Regions from separate parts of the Homo sapiens genome. Here all the other regions are linked to region 1. Evidence: promoter capture Hi-C in human tissues and cell types (Jung and others, 2019). All regions are on one chromosome and are shown on one strand. The core of a region is centred on a gene start or on the middle of the fragment in contact, and the rest is flanking DNA. Distances in the headings are between cores, read along the strand shown. Region 1 holds the start of OR2S2 (olfactory receptor family 2 subfamily S member 2). Region 2 overlaps RNF38 (ring finger protein 38). Region 3 overlaps GNE (glucosamine (UDP-N-acetyl)-2-epimerase/N-acetylmannosamine kinase).

Region 1 (3,935 bases), core at 829-3,328:
CTAGGACACTGTGGCTCACGCTTGTAATCCCAGCACTTTGGGAGGCTGAGTCGGGCGGATCACTTGAGGCCAGCAGTTTGAGACCAGCCTGGCCAAAATGGTGAAACCCTGTCTTTACTAAAAATACAAGAATTAGCCGGGCATGGTGGTGTATGCCTGTAGTCCCAGCTACTCAGGAGGCTGAGGGATGAGGCTTGCTTAAACCTGGGAGGCAGAGGTTGCAGTGAGCCGAGACTGCACCACTGTACTCTCGTCTGGGTGACACAGCGAGACTCTGTCTCAAAAAAAAAAAAAAAAAAGAAATTAGACCCAAAGTCTTCAAACATGTGTAGCCACCATCTGTCTACTTCTATCTATATCTATCTACCATCATCTTTTTTCTAGAACATGATTTGGCATCTATCAGAATACAAGCTTTGCTGTTGTGAAATTCTGTAAGAACGTCAAATTTGAACTCATTACTCCTTGAATTTTATTTAATTTACTAGGTGGTGTTCAATGATCTGCAGTGCATCAGGAAAAAATAGCCTAAATTTTCTCATAGCTAAAAAGATATTCAGTCATCAAAATAGATTATTCACAACTAAAAGCTCCCTAAGTGAAGAACTTACCTTTTCTTAGCCATTCAGGCAAACTGAGTGTAATAAACTGAAGCCTCAGTAAAAGTTTCCACTCCCTCCTTATTTCTCTGATTTCCCTGGTGAATCCAGTAGGGCTGGTAAGTTGCTGTGAGAACATTCTCACGTCCCTGTTCTAACTCTAGAGCTGAGACACTCTAAGGGCCATGCGTCATGCTTTCATGGCTGCTGTCTCGTGTGGTTTTACCGTATGTTCAGAATGCCTTCATCACAGTTGATTATTTATTGAGTCTGGTGTCTGTTGAAGCTGTCAGACATAGGACTAAAACTCAGGAGATATCGTCTGAAAAGTTTAATATCTCCTGCAAATGGACTTAGAGTGAGAAACCATTATAGGTCACATGACTTGGCTTTTGAATGGCAGCTGATGTGATTGTGATTCCTTACTTCCATGTGGGTGACAATCACAGAGGACCCTTCCACCATCACTGAGTGAAGCCTTTTGGTCTCAGCAGTCTCCTCACAGCAGCCTTCACATCCTTGTTCCTCAGGCTATAGATGATGGGGTTGAGCATCGGGGTCACCACCCCATAGAAAAGGGGGATGAGTTTGTCTGAAAGATCCTCTTTGTCTGCTCCCATGGAGTCCTTAGACTTAGGCTTCCCATACATGAAGAATAAGGTCCCGTAGAAGACGATCACCACGGTGAGGTGGGCAGAGCAGGTGGAGAAGACCTTTTTCCTCCCCTCAGCTGAGGGGATCCTCAGGATGGTGGTGATGATGAAGACATAGGAGAAAGAGATGAACAGAACCGGGACTCCTAGGAAGATCACATTCGTCACCTCCATGCTGATCACATTGATGGAAATGTCAGCACAGGCCAACTTTAGAACAGCCAGAATCTCACAGGTGAAGTGGTTGATGACATTGTCTCCACAGAAGGGCAGCTGAATTGCCAAGGATGTGTGTACCACGGAAGCAGCACCACCAATAGCCCAGGAGCTGGCAGCCATGGGCATGTAGGCAGCCTTGCTCATGATCACGGAGTACCTAAGGGGGTTGCAGATGGCCACATAGCGATCAAATGCCATCATGCTCAGGAGCAAGCACTCTGTTCCTGCCATGGCAAAGGAGAGTGCCATCTGCACAGCACAGGCTGAGAAGGAGATGGTTTCCTGGGGAGTCAAAAAGCTGTCCAGGACCAGTGGGACTGAGGAGGTAGTGAAGCAGATGTCCAGGAAGGAGAGGTTCCCTAGGAAGAAGTACATGGGCGTGTGCAGGCGGGAGTCAAGGATGGTCACCAGGATGAGGACCCCATTGCCCAGCAGGATCACGAGGTACATCAGCAGGATGAGCACGAAGAATGTCTTTTCCAGCTCTGGGTGGGCAGAGAGCCTCAGGAGAACGAACCCCATCACAGGGGAGGTCTCATTGGCTTTTTCCATGTGATATCCCCTCTGCCATCAGCAAAGTACTGAGCAGCGCATCAGGCTTTTTGGGAAGAGTCCTAGGCATCTAATATGTGGTCAAGTTCCCATTGCATAATAGAAGAACATATCTGTGCAAGAGAAAAATGACGGAAAGAGACAGTAGGGGGTGTCTTAGAAGACAGAAGGTCAGAGCTGGACAGGTAGTGGGTGAGGGCCTCAAATGTCCGGTTGTGCATGAGGGATTTTTCTGAAGTTGCTGCACCCTCTCAGTGTCCACAAAGGTGATAGAGGCCTGGGGAGGAGAAGTGACCTGTCCAAATCTTCTGAGCAAGTTGGTGACAGAGACAAGACTTGAACCCAGCAGAGCATATCCCTGGCCCAAGGAGGGCTTTTCCTCTTCATTGTGATTAAGTGCTAGGAAATGCTATGAATTATTTCTCTTTAATGCAAATCCACAGCAATTTCATTTGATCTGGGCTTTCTTAGATTCTCAGAGAGGAAAATTCCCAAGAAGATGCAATTCTTGGACCTAGCAAGTGATTAAGTTTCTTTAAACTTTGATTACACGTGGGGAGGAAATTGCGCAAAATTGTTCAACCATATTCACACAGAAACAAGCCTAGTTAATATTCAGCCATAAAGAGCATTACTTCTTCAGTCTAGTGACACAGGCTTGAGCATTGACAGGAATAGATCTGCCTATTTGAAATATGGATTTATTGCAATATATGGGGAGGTCCTATAGCTGGGAAATTTATGAAGCCAACAAATGGATTTGTTGGAGTGACTGAACTCACACCATGAGACAACACTGTGTAGCTTACCAGTTAGTTAATGCAATATTAATAACCACACTCTAACTATAGTTATCGATAGTAGAGTATATGGCATTAACTTCTGATCCCATCTCATTAGGATGTCTGTGAAATTCCTAACCGTGAATGACTAAGAATGTTTTTTCTTTGTCCTTTTATGTTTGCATTTTATTCTTGCATTATCTTCTGACTCTCTGACTCCATTCTTGAGTTCTATGCAAGCAGCTGGCTTATAGGAAGACTTATATGCCTTTGTATAGAGGATATCTAGTCTCTTACTTGCAATTTCCCTGACTCTAAATTCAAAGTACTCATAGATAATATTTTGATAGCTCCTTCTTAATGACAGTGGCTCTATGAGTGTGTATAAGAGTGGGTGGATGATGGAAGATGAGTGGTTAATATTAATATTAGTGAGAATATTAGGGATTCTCACTAATATTAAGGAATATAAGCTGTGCCATATTTCTTGAAACAGCTCATGGAGAAGATATTATCATTCAGGTTTTACAGGTGAAGTAACTGGAGCTCAGAAGATAAATTTGCTCCTTGGGGTTGAATGGCAGAGCTGGAGTTGGATTCCAAGACCTAGTCCTGAGTTCTTTCACGAAACAGCTGCTTTTCTCTTTTGGTGCACAGCTTTGCAAAAGATTCTGTCCCTCCAATATTAGACAGATCTTATAGTCCTATTTATAATTTTCTCTGTGCTAATATTGCTATAGCATAATGATAAATTAAAAGGACAAAGTCAAACTTGTACACACTGTTATGATCTCAATTAGCTCTGTGTATTCTCTGGCCAGTCTCACTGTCTGTCCAACACTCTCTCTTCAGTCATGGGGGAGGGTTTATGTCAGATGTGTTGTCAGGCAGTGCACCTCCCACCCTAAATGGAACTCAGGGTTTCTCAAATTCTTTACGATTGACATTTTGTGCTGGATAACCCTTTGGTGTGAGGGCTGTCCTGTGCATTGTAGGATGTTTAGCAGAGTCTCTGACCTCCACCAATCAGTTGCCAATAGCACCTTCTACCCTGAGTTGTAACAATCAAAATGTTTCCAGACGCTGCCACATGCTTCCAGGGGAAAGGTGTGTGTGTTGGGGCGGGGGGG
Region 2 (3,935 bases), core at 588-3,087, 380 kb after region 1:
ACGATCTCAACTCACTGCAACCACTGCCTCCTGGGTTCAAGCGATTCTCCCGTCTCAGCCTCCCGAGCAGCTGAGATTACAGGTGCCCACCACCATGCCTGGCTAATTTTTGTATTTTAGTAGAGACGGGGTTTCACCATGTTGGTCAGGCTGGTCTCAAACTCCTGACCTCGGGTGATCCACCCACCATGGCCTCCCAAGGTGCTGGGATTACAGGCGTGAGCCACTGCGCCTGGCCGCCATGAATGATTTTTAGTAGGTCTGTTAAAATATATAAACAAGATTACCATTGACCAGTTTGGACCAAGTTAACAACTGACATTAAAGTAAAAGCTTGGTTAGTCTTTTTTTCCCCCGTTTTTTGAGACAGGGTTAAACCCTGTTGCCCACAGGAGCACAGTGGCATGACTACAGCTCACTACAGACTTGAACTCCTGGGCCTAAGTGATCCTCCTGCTTCAGCTTCCTGAAAACCTAGGATTAACAGGTGTGTGCCACCACACCCAACCAATTTAAAAGACGGGTTTCACTAAGTTGCCCAGGCTGGTCTCAAACTCCAGGCCTCAAATGATCCTCCTGCCTTTGCCTCCCAAAATGTTGGGATTACATGCCTGAGTCACCATTCCTGGCCCCTTGGCTATTCTTAATGGAATGAAGTCACAGAAAACATTTAGTGGTACCGAGGAAAGCTTGATTGTAAAATAGGTGACTGACTCTATACTGATAGCTCTACTTACTCACCTGTTCCCTGGCTCCTAAATTTGCTTTCTCCATTTCAACAAATGGGACCATAATTTGTGGAGTTGCTAATGCCAGACACATAAGCATCACCTGCTCTCCTACTTCCTACAACCCCATTATTCAGCACATAATCTTATTTCTGCATTACAGTAATTCTCAAATCAGTCCCTCTTTTCATCTAGTTGCTACTATCCATTCTCTGGCCCACCATGTCTTTATTCTATCTCCCTGTCTCTCAGAAATTACCTCTTTTATTAGAACAGTGGCCAGAAATCCTTCTATAAAACAGTCTGTTATATACTTCCCAAATGCTTTCAGGATCACACTAAACTCCTTTACGCTTCAGAGTGGCTTCACAACAAGCCGCTCATTGATTTTATCTCTGAACACCTTTTCTTTTCCCACTCTTCCTCACATTCCAACTATCAGCCACACGGAACTTGTGGTTTTCTGATTCTCTGTCCGCACGTGTCAGGGATTTACACATATAATGCTTTCCTTTTAAAATAATTTAAGACTCTTTGTCTTCAGGATTGAGTTTGGGCTAAACTAGATCTCTGGAACTGTGCTCCCTCAGAACTGACTTTATCTTCCTCACCAAATAGTAAGGTTATCTAGTTTTATCCAAACCGGAACACTTAATTTAAAAAATAACATAAATTTGACTATATTTTTTTTATATAGTCATGGAGCCACTGCACCCAGCCTATTAAAATTCTTTTACTGTATCACATTTTACTGTATCACAATTTGAGACTATGAAACTATGAAGAGTAAAAAAGCAGCTTTTGTAAACTTTTTTTTTTAAACATTAAATAGCCAGGTGCAGTATATAATCCCAACACTTTGGGAGGCTGAGGTGGGAGGATTGCTTGGGCCCAAGAGTTCCAGACCAGTCTGGGCAACATAGTGACACCCAGTCTCGCTTGAGCCTGGGATGTCAAGGCTACATTGAGCCATGACTGTACCGCTGCACTCCAGACTGGGTGACACACTGAGACCCTGTTTCAAAATATATATATATATATATATATATATATATATATATATATATATATATATATATATATATATATATATATATAAAGAAGCCCCTGCAATAATTTCACTCTGGCATAGCCACTCTTAGGATTTGTGTCCTTTGTGCTTTTGTTCATATATACAAAGGAGAAAATGGTCAGAATTAAATAAAAACACTAGATGTATTTTTCTCCATGCTAACCTCTGAAAATAGAGCTATAATTAGGTAGCCTTCTAAACTCTCAAACTGTGGCCTAGCAAGTTCGGGCCTTGTCCCTATATACCATGAAAAAGGACATACTGATTGTCAAGAGGTCATCCATTTTGGATTTTGTATAGTCACTCCTATGTTGTTGACTGCAGTTAATTTTTACTGGCCTTTTCTCATTTGCAGAGATCATACTGAAAGCTGTGTTTCCATTTTGTCTTCCTTCCTGTCCACTGAGCTATGAACTTACTCTAATCCATGGTCAATAAAATAGAAAATTCAATGTCATTTCCTTTAAAGATGTCATCACTTTACCTTAAGCCATTTGTCAACACACTTGGCATGGAACTCGTGGTTACAGGGTAAGACTCTAAGTAGCTGCCTTGACTCAAAATCACACATGCATACTACACACCTAAAAAAAGCAAAAAGATCATTTAACCACAAAACCAGATGGTTTTCTATTGTTATGACTACTGAAACCTACAAGATAATTTATTCTGTTATCAAAACGTCACTTAAATTTTTAAACAAAATTATCAACCAATACCCTGAAAAAATTGTGATGTTAAGGCAGTAAGAGTTTTGCTTTGCTGACAGATTAGCAAGAAAATTTCTAGTTAACATCAAGTCAATCTTAATACCAAAGATTCTATACTATTTAAAAAAAAATGGTATTAGAACTGGATGTCCACATACAAAAGAATAAAGGTGGACCCCTACCTCATACCATATATAAAAACTGACTCAAATGGATCAAAAGCTTAAGTGTTAAGAGCTGATCTATTAACCTCTTAGAAGAAAACACAGTAAATTTTCATGACCTTGGATTAGACAATGGTTTCTTGGAGATGACATTAAAAGCACAAGAATTAACAAGAAAAAAAGAAATGCAGTTGTTCTTCAGTATTTGAGGGGGATTGATTTCTAGGACCTGCAATGGATACTAAAATCTGCAGATGTTCAAATCCTTTATATACAATGGTATAGTATTTGTGACCTATGCACACCCTCCCATATGCTTTAAAATCATCACTATAATACTTAATACAATGTAAGTGCTATGTAAATAGTTGTTATACTGTATTGTTCTTTATTTGTACTATGTATTGCTCTATTGTTATTTTCTATTTTTATTTTTTCCTGAATATTTTCAATCTTTGGTTGGTTGAATACAGAGGGCTTAGTGTAGGCTGAAATAAACCAAAATCAAAATTTAAACATTTTGTGCTTCAAAGGACATCACTGAAAAACTCAACAATCCACAGAATGGCAAAACATTTTTTTTACACTTTTTATTATTCTATTCCTCAGAGATCCCTGTTCTGAGAGAAGACATTTTTGAAGATAATTTATCTGGTGAGATCTATAATATGTATAAAACCTCTACAACTCAATAATACAAAGACAAACCAATTTATGGAAAATGAAGCAAGGATCAGAATAGACATTTCTGGAAAGAAGGTACACAAATGGCTAGTAGCACATGAAAACACACTCAAGATCATTAGCCATCAGGGAAATGCAAATCAAATCTGCAGGAAATACCACTTCACAATCACTAGACTGGCTATAATAAAAAAAAATAGACAATATAGAGTGATTCAAAGCCATTATTTAGCTTTGGCATTATTCAATCCCAAAGTGGAAACCCAAATGTCCATCCATCGACGAAAAAAAAATATGATCTATACAATGGAATATTATTTGGCCATAAAAAGAAATGACTTACCAGTAAAAGCTACAATATAGAAAAAGTTATGCTAAGTGAAAGATGCTAGACACAAAAAGACCCTATATTGTATGACCCCATTTATGTGTAATCTATATAGACACAGTGTAGACTGGGGATGGGGAGGAGGCACCAAGGTGAGGTAGAAATATGACGAGTGTTGCCAGTGGGTGAGGGGTTTTGTTTTAGGGTGATGCAATGGGTCTAAATTTGATTGTGGTGATAGTTACACAG
Region 3 (3,935 bases), core at 895-3,394, 260 kb after region 1:
TAGTATTAAAGTTTTTGGTGGCCTAGAGTGAATTAGAATATGTTAGCATTTTGAAAGTGTTTTTGAAATGAGAGGTTGTGTGGCTCAGCAGCAAAAGCACAGAGGGACCTGGGATCAAACCCTCTCTCTAGCCCCATAGCTTAACAGTCAAACACACCAAGTTCTATAAAATAAAAATTAAAACACCTACCTCATATGTTGAGATAATTTAGGATAATGTATATGAAGCACCTAGTTCAGAGCCTGGCACACAGTAGGCACTTAATAAGTGGTGGCAGTTAGTATTTCTTCCAAGTTAACAATTCATAGCCAGAACTTTGGCTTTTGTATTTTGACACCAATGAAAACACGAATCATGTAGACAGAATCCTGATTCATGGCTCTGGGCTCTAGGTAAAACTCAAAACTTTAATGGACACCCTAGGGTGTTACTCAACACAGTATGAAAGGCTACTGAAGGAAGAAGTGTCTGCTGGTCAGTAGCAAAGATCCTTTTGGGACAGTTAATCTCCTTTTAAAGGCTCTAAGTCCCAGTGGCTTCTCAGCTGTCCTAAGAAGATAAGGACAAGGTCACTAAGGCCACTGTAATTTAGATCCCTGGTCTAAAGTCTCTTGTAAGTTCAGCTAGAGTAATAACATCTTTCAACAAATGGTATCCAGGATTAGGGGGGATATCTGAGATGGGGGAGTGATAGATATGTCCAGTGTCTTGATTGTGGTGATGCTTTCACAGGTATACATATGTCAAGGCTTATCAAATTGTAGGCTTTAAAAACAATAAAGCTGTTTTAAAAAAAAGTGTACTTAAGCCCTTCCTGGTAAGATTTCCCTCTGTTCTCTGACTGGATCACCTTCTGTGATCTTAGTTTGGGGTTAGAGGAGGAAGGATGTGTGTGTGTGTGTGTGTGTGTGTGTAGACGGAGTCTCGCTCTGTCACCCAGGGTGGAGTGCAGTGGCATGATCTCGGCTCACTGCAACCTCCGCCTCCCGGGTTCAAGCAATTCTCCTGCCTCAGCCTCCCGAGTAGCTGGGACTACAGGCACATGCCACCACGCCCGGCTAATTTTTGTATTTTAGTAGAGATGGGGTTTCACCATGTTGGCCAGGCTGGTCTTGAACTCCTGACCTCAGGTGATCCGCCCATCTCGGCCTCCCAAAATGTTGGGATTACAGGCGTGAGCCACTGCGCCCAGCTGGAAGGATTATTATTATTATTATTATTATTATTATTATTTATTATTATTATTTTTGAGATGGAGTCTTGCTCTGTCACCCAGGCTGGAGTGCAGTGGTGCGGTCTCAGTTCACTGCCAGCTCCGCCTCCCTGGTTCATGCCATTCTCCTGCCTCAGCCTCCCGAGTAGCTGGGACCCGCCACCACACCCAGCTAATTTTTTGTATTTTTAGTAGAGACGGGGTTTCACCATGTTTCACCATGTTAGCCAGGGCGGTCTCGATCTCCTGACCTCGTGATCCGCCCGCCTCGGCCTCCCAAAGTGCTGGGATTACAGGCGTGAGCCACTGTGCCCGGCCTGGAAGGATTATTAATGCAAACTTCAGGATGAAGTGATATCCCAGGCAAGGCCTGAAGGTCTCAGTGGTATTAATACATTAGTAAGCAGAGTTCTAAGAAGGCTTCCTCTCTATTATTGTAGCTGCTTTGGCACAGAAAATTGTGACTGTAACTTACAGGGTTTGAGCTAAAATGACCCCTAGTAAGAAGACATCAGAAAGAATAGCATCTACAAAAATAGGAGTGGGGAAAGGTGACTCTGGAAGAGGAGACCAAAAGTGAAAACATTTCTCTGCCAAAGTCACCTGCAGTTCAATACCAGATTTGATTGTTAAGAAACGGTCATCCTAAAGACAAGAACTTGATTCCACTCAGGAGCTCTGGAGAGAAGGTCCATGTCTGTTCCTGGAGGTCTAGTAGATCCTGCGTGTTGTGTAGTCCAGAACCATGCTGGCAGCACCCAGCAGGGCGGGGTCAACCAAATCCGAAACCACCACATCCACGTCCTGCACGGAGGACAAGGCCTGCTGGCGAATGACGTCTTTGACAATGTGGATATAGTGACTGGCCAGGACTCCGGAGAGGATCACAAGGGAGGGATTCATGGTATGGAGGATGTTCACAACCCCAAGACCCAAAGCTGTTCCAGCTATAGGGAGACAAAAATTAAAATGAGTTTCTGAGAGAAGCCAAAATCAAAATACCAAAGAGGAAGGCAGAAAAGAGCCAGCAGCAGAAATGTTAAAGAACATCCACGGCATGCAGTGGGAGGCAGTGTTTTAAAAGCAGTTCACGGTTGATTCTTAATATGAGAAAATGATCATGTGACAGCCTCAAGTGGAAAAAGCCGGGTGTACCACATGATCTCCACTAGGCAAAAAAATGAATAGAAAGACTCGAAGGAAATGTTAATAGTTGATACCTCCAAATGGGAAAACTAAGTGATATTTTTTCTTACAACTGTCCTATATTTCTCTAAATTTCCTGTAAAATGAAAGGAGCATTTTTATAGTTGTCAAACCAAACCAACCACCTGCTGAAAAAGGCAATGCTGCCAAATACCTTGAATCCAATTCCCTTTTTACCTCTGAGTAATTAGGAAAGAAACCTCTGAACAGACACTGCAAAGCACCTGTCCCTAGGGAAGCAGGGTCTCTTCTGGGGCCGGGCTGGGCCATATGATATCTGAGGCCACCCCCTGCAGCACAGCCACCTGCAGCCACATGCTCACCTGTTCTTAGGATGCTCTGGGCCTTCGCATTGCCAAGTTTCGCAGCTTGGATGAGATGGAGCGCACCCACAGCCTCATCTTTTGGCACTGACATCCCTTCCACCAAGAGCAGGTCCTCTGAACAGAGTGAGAAGGAAAAGCAGTCACTAATGAGCTGTGGGGAGGCCAAGCTCACCACTGGGCCTGTGGAAAGCAAGCCCCTACATGGGAAGACGGTGTTTTCTTTTCACAATTGCAAAGCTTATCGTTCACAAACATCTCTATACACTGCCCCTAAAGCCTTTGCTACCCTCTTGCTAATTGGTTGTACATAACCCAGAACCTATCTTCCTGGAAAAACCTCAAGTCTGACGACAGCCTCCTACCCCTCTGGCTCCCTCACTTCTCACTTCCAGTAGCAGACAGTCTTTGAAGTGTTCTTTTCTCCAAATTATCACCCTCCTCCCACATTCACTCCTTCCTTACTCATCCCAGACACAATGCTGTGCCATCTGCCAGCGCCACGCGTTCTATGGCAGCGAGGCACAGTGGCTGAGGAACAGACACAGGCCTGGGGTCAGTGCCAGCTCTGCCACTCCCAGCTGCATGACCCCATGCCTGTCACCTCACCTGTACACATTCCTCCTTCCTAGAAGATGAGACCAGTAGTGCCTCCCCTGGCAGGGTTATTTGAGGAACGGAATGAGATCATGGACATAAAGTATTTAGTTAAGTGCTGGCCACAGTAAATGCTCAGTAAGCAGCAGGTATTTCTGTGGTTATCTGTAGTCCTTGTCTTCTGCCCGTCACCAACTCAGATCAATCTGCCTCCTACTAATCTGCTAGAATATCTGGACCCTGAAGGAGAAAAATCCCCAGCTGTGCAAACTGCAACCTAGACATCAACTGGTGGTCTCCTGTCTCCCCTGGGCCCTCACAGCTCTCACCCATTCTCTCTGACTGCGCTTTTCTATACCTTCACCACCTTCCCAGTCCTTCTACCCCCACTGCCAACAGACGAGCATACTTCTTACCTCTCTCATAGGGGGCACCACCAGGCAGTGATCCCCTACCTTTTTGCTTCCTGTCCCATACACCCATCATCTCGGCTCGCCATGCCCTCTCGTGGACCCTCTGCCTGGCTTTGCAGCTCATCTCTTCCCACCTCTTCAGAACCCTACTGTAGGGCTCTATACACTTCTCTCCTGCACTC

What was found. The method cuts DNA at HindIII sites, captures the fragments that hold promoters and counts their contacts. A contact is called where the count stands out against the background at its distance.
Region 2: a fragment that was not itself captured here is called in contact with the fragment with the promoter of OR2S2 in region 1 in 2 of the 25 tissues and cell types used here (mesenchymal stem cells and thymus).
Region 3: a contact is called between a fragment that was not itself captured here and the fragment with the promoter of OR2S2 in region 1, in 1 of the 25 tissues and cell types used here (mesenchymal stem cells).

What each region holds. Positions count from the first base shown.
Region 1 is chr9:35,956,076-35,960,010 of GRCh38, forward strand. It overlaps OR2S2 (olfactory receptor family 2 subfamily S member 2), which reads right to left and starts at 2,079. Exons shown (of 1, transcript NM_019897.2): 1 at 1,033-2,079. The coding sequence starts at 2,023. The coding sequence ends at 1,064. The HindIII fragment of the contact is 4,346 bases long and covers 134-3,935 here.
Region 2 is chr9:36,340,041-36,343,975 of GRCh38, forward strand. RNF38 (ring finger protein 38) reads right to left here. Exons shown (of 12, transcript NM_022781.5): 11 at 2,285-2,384. Among named protein-coding and RNA genes, the nearest start is that of RNF38, 58 kb to the right of the region's middle. The HindIII fragment of the contact is 3,787 bases long and covers 1-3,731 here.
Region 3 is chr9:36,215,440-36,219,374 of GRCh38, forward strand. GNE (glucosamine (UDP-N-acetyl)-2-epimerase/N-acetylmannosamine kinase) reads right to left here. Exons shown (of 12, transcript NM_005476.7): 11 at 2,744-2,860; 12 at 1-2,161. The coding sequence ends at 1,926. Among named protein-coding and RNA genes, the nearest start is that of CLTA, 26 kb to the left of the region's middle. The HindIII fragment of the contact is 7,322 bases long and covers 1-3,935 here.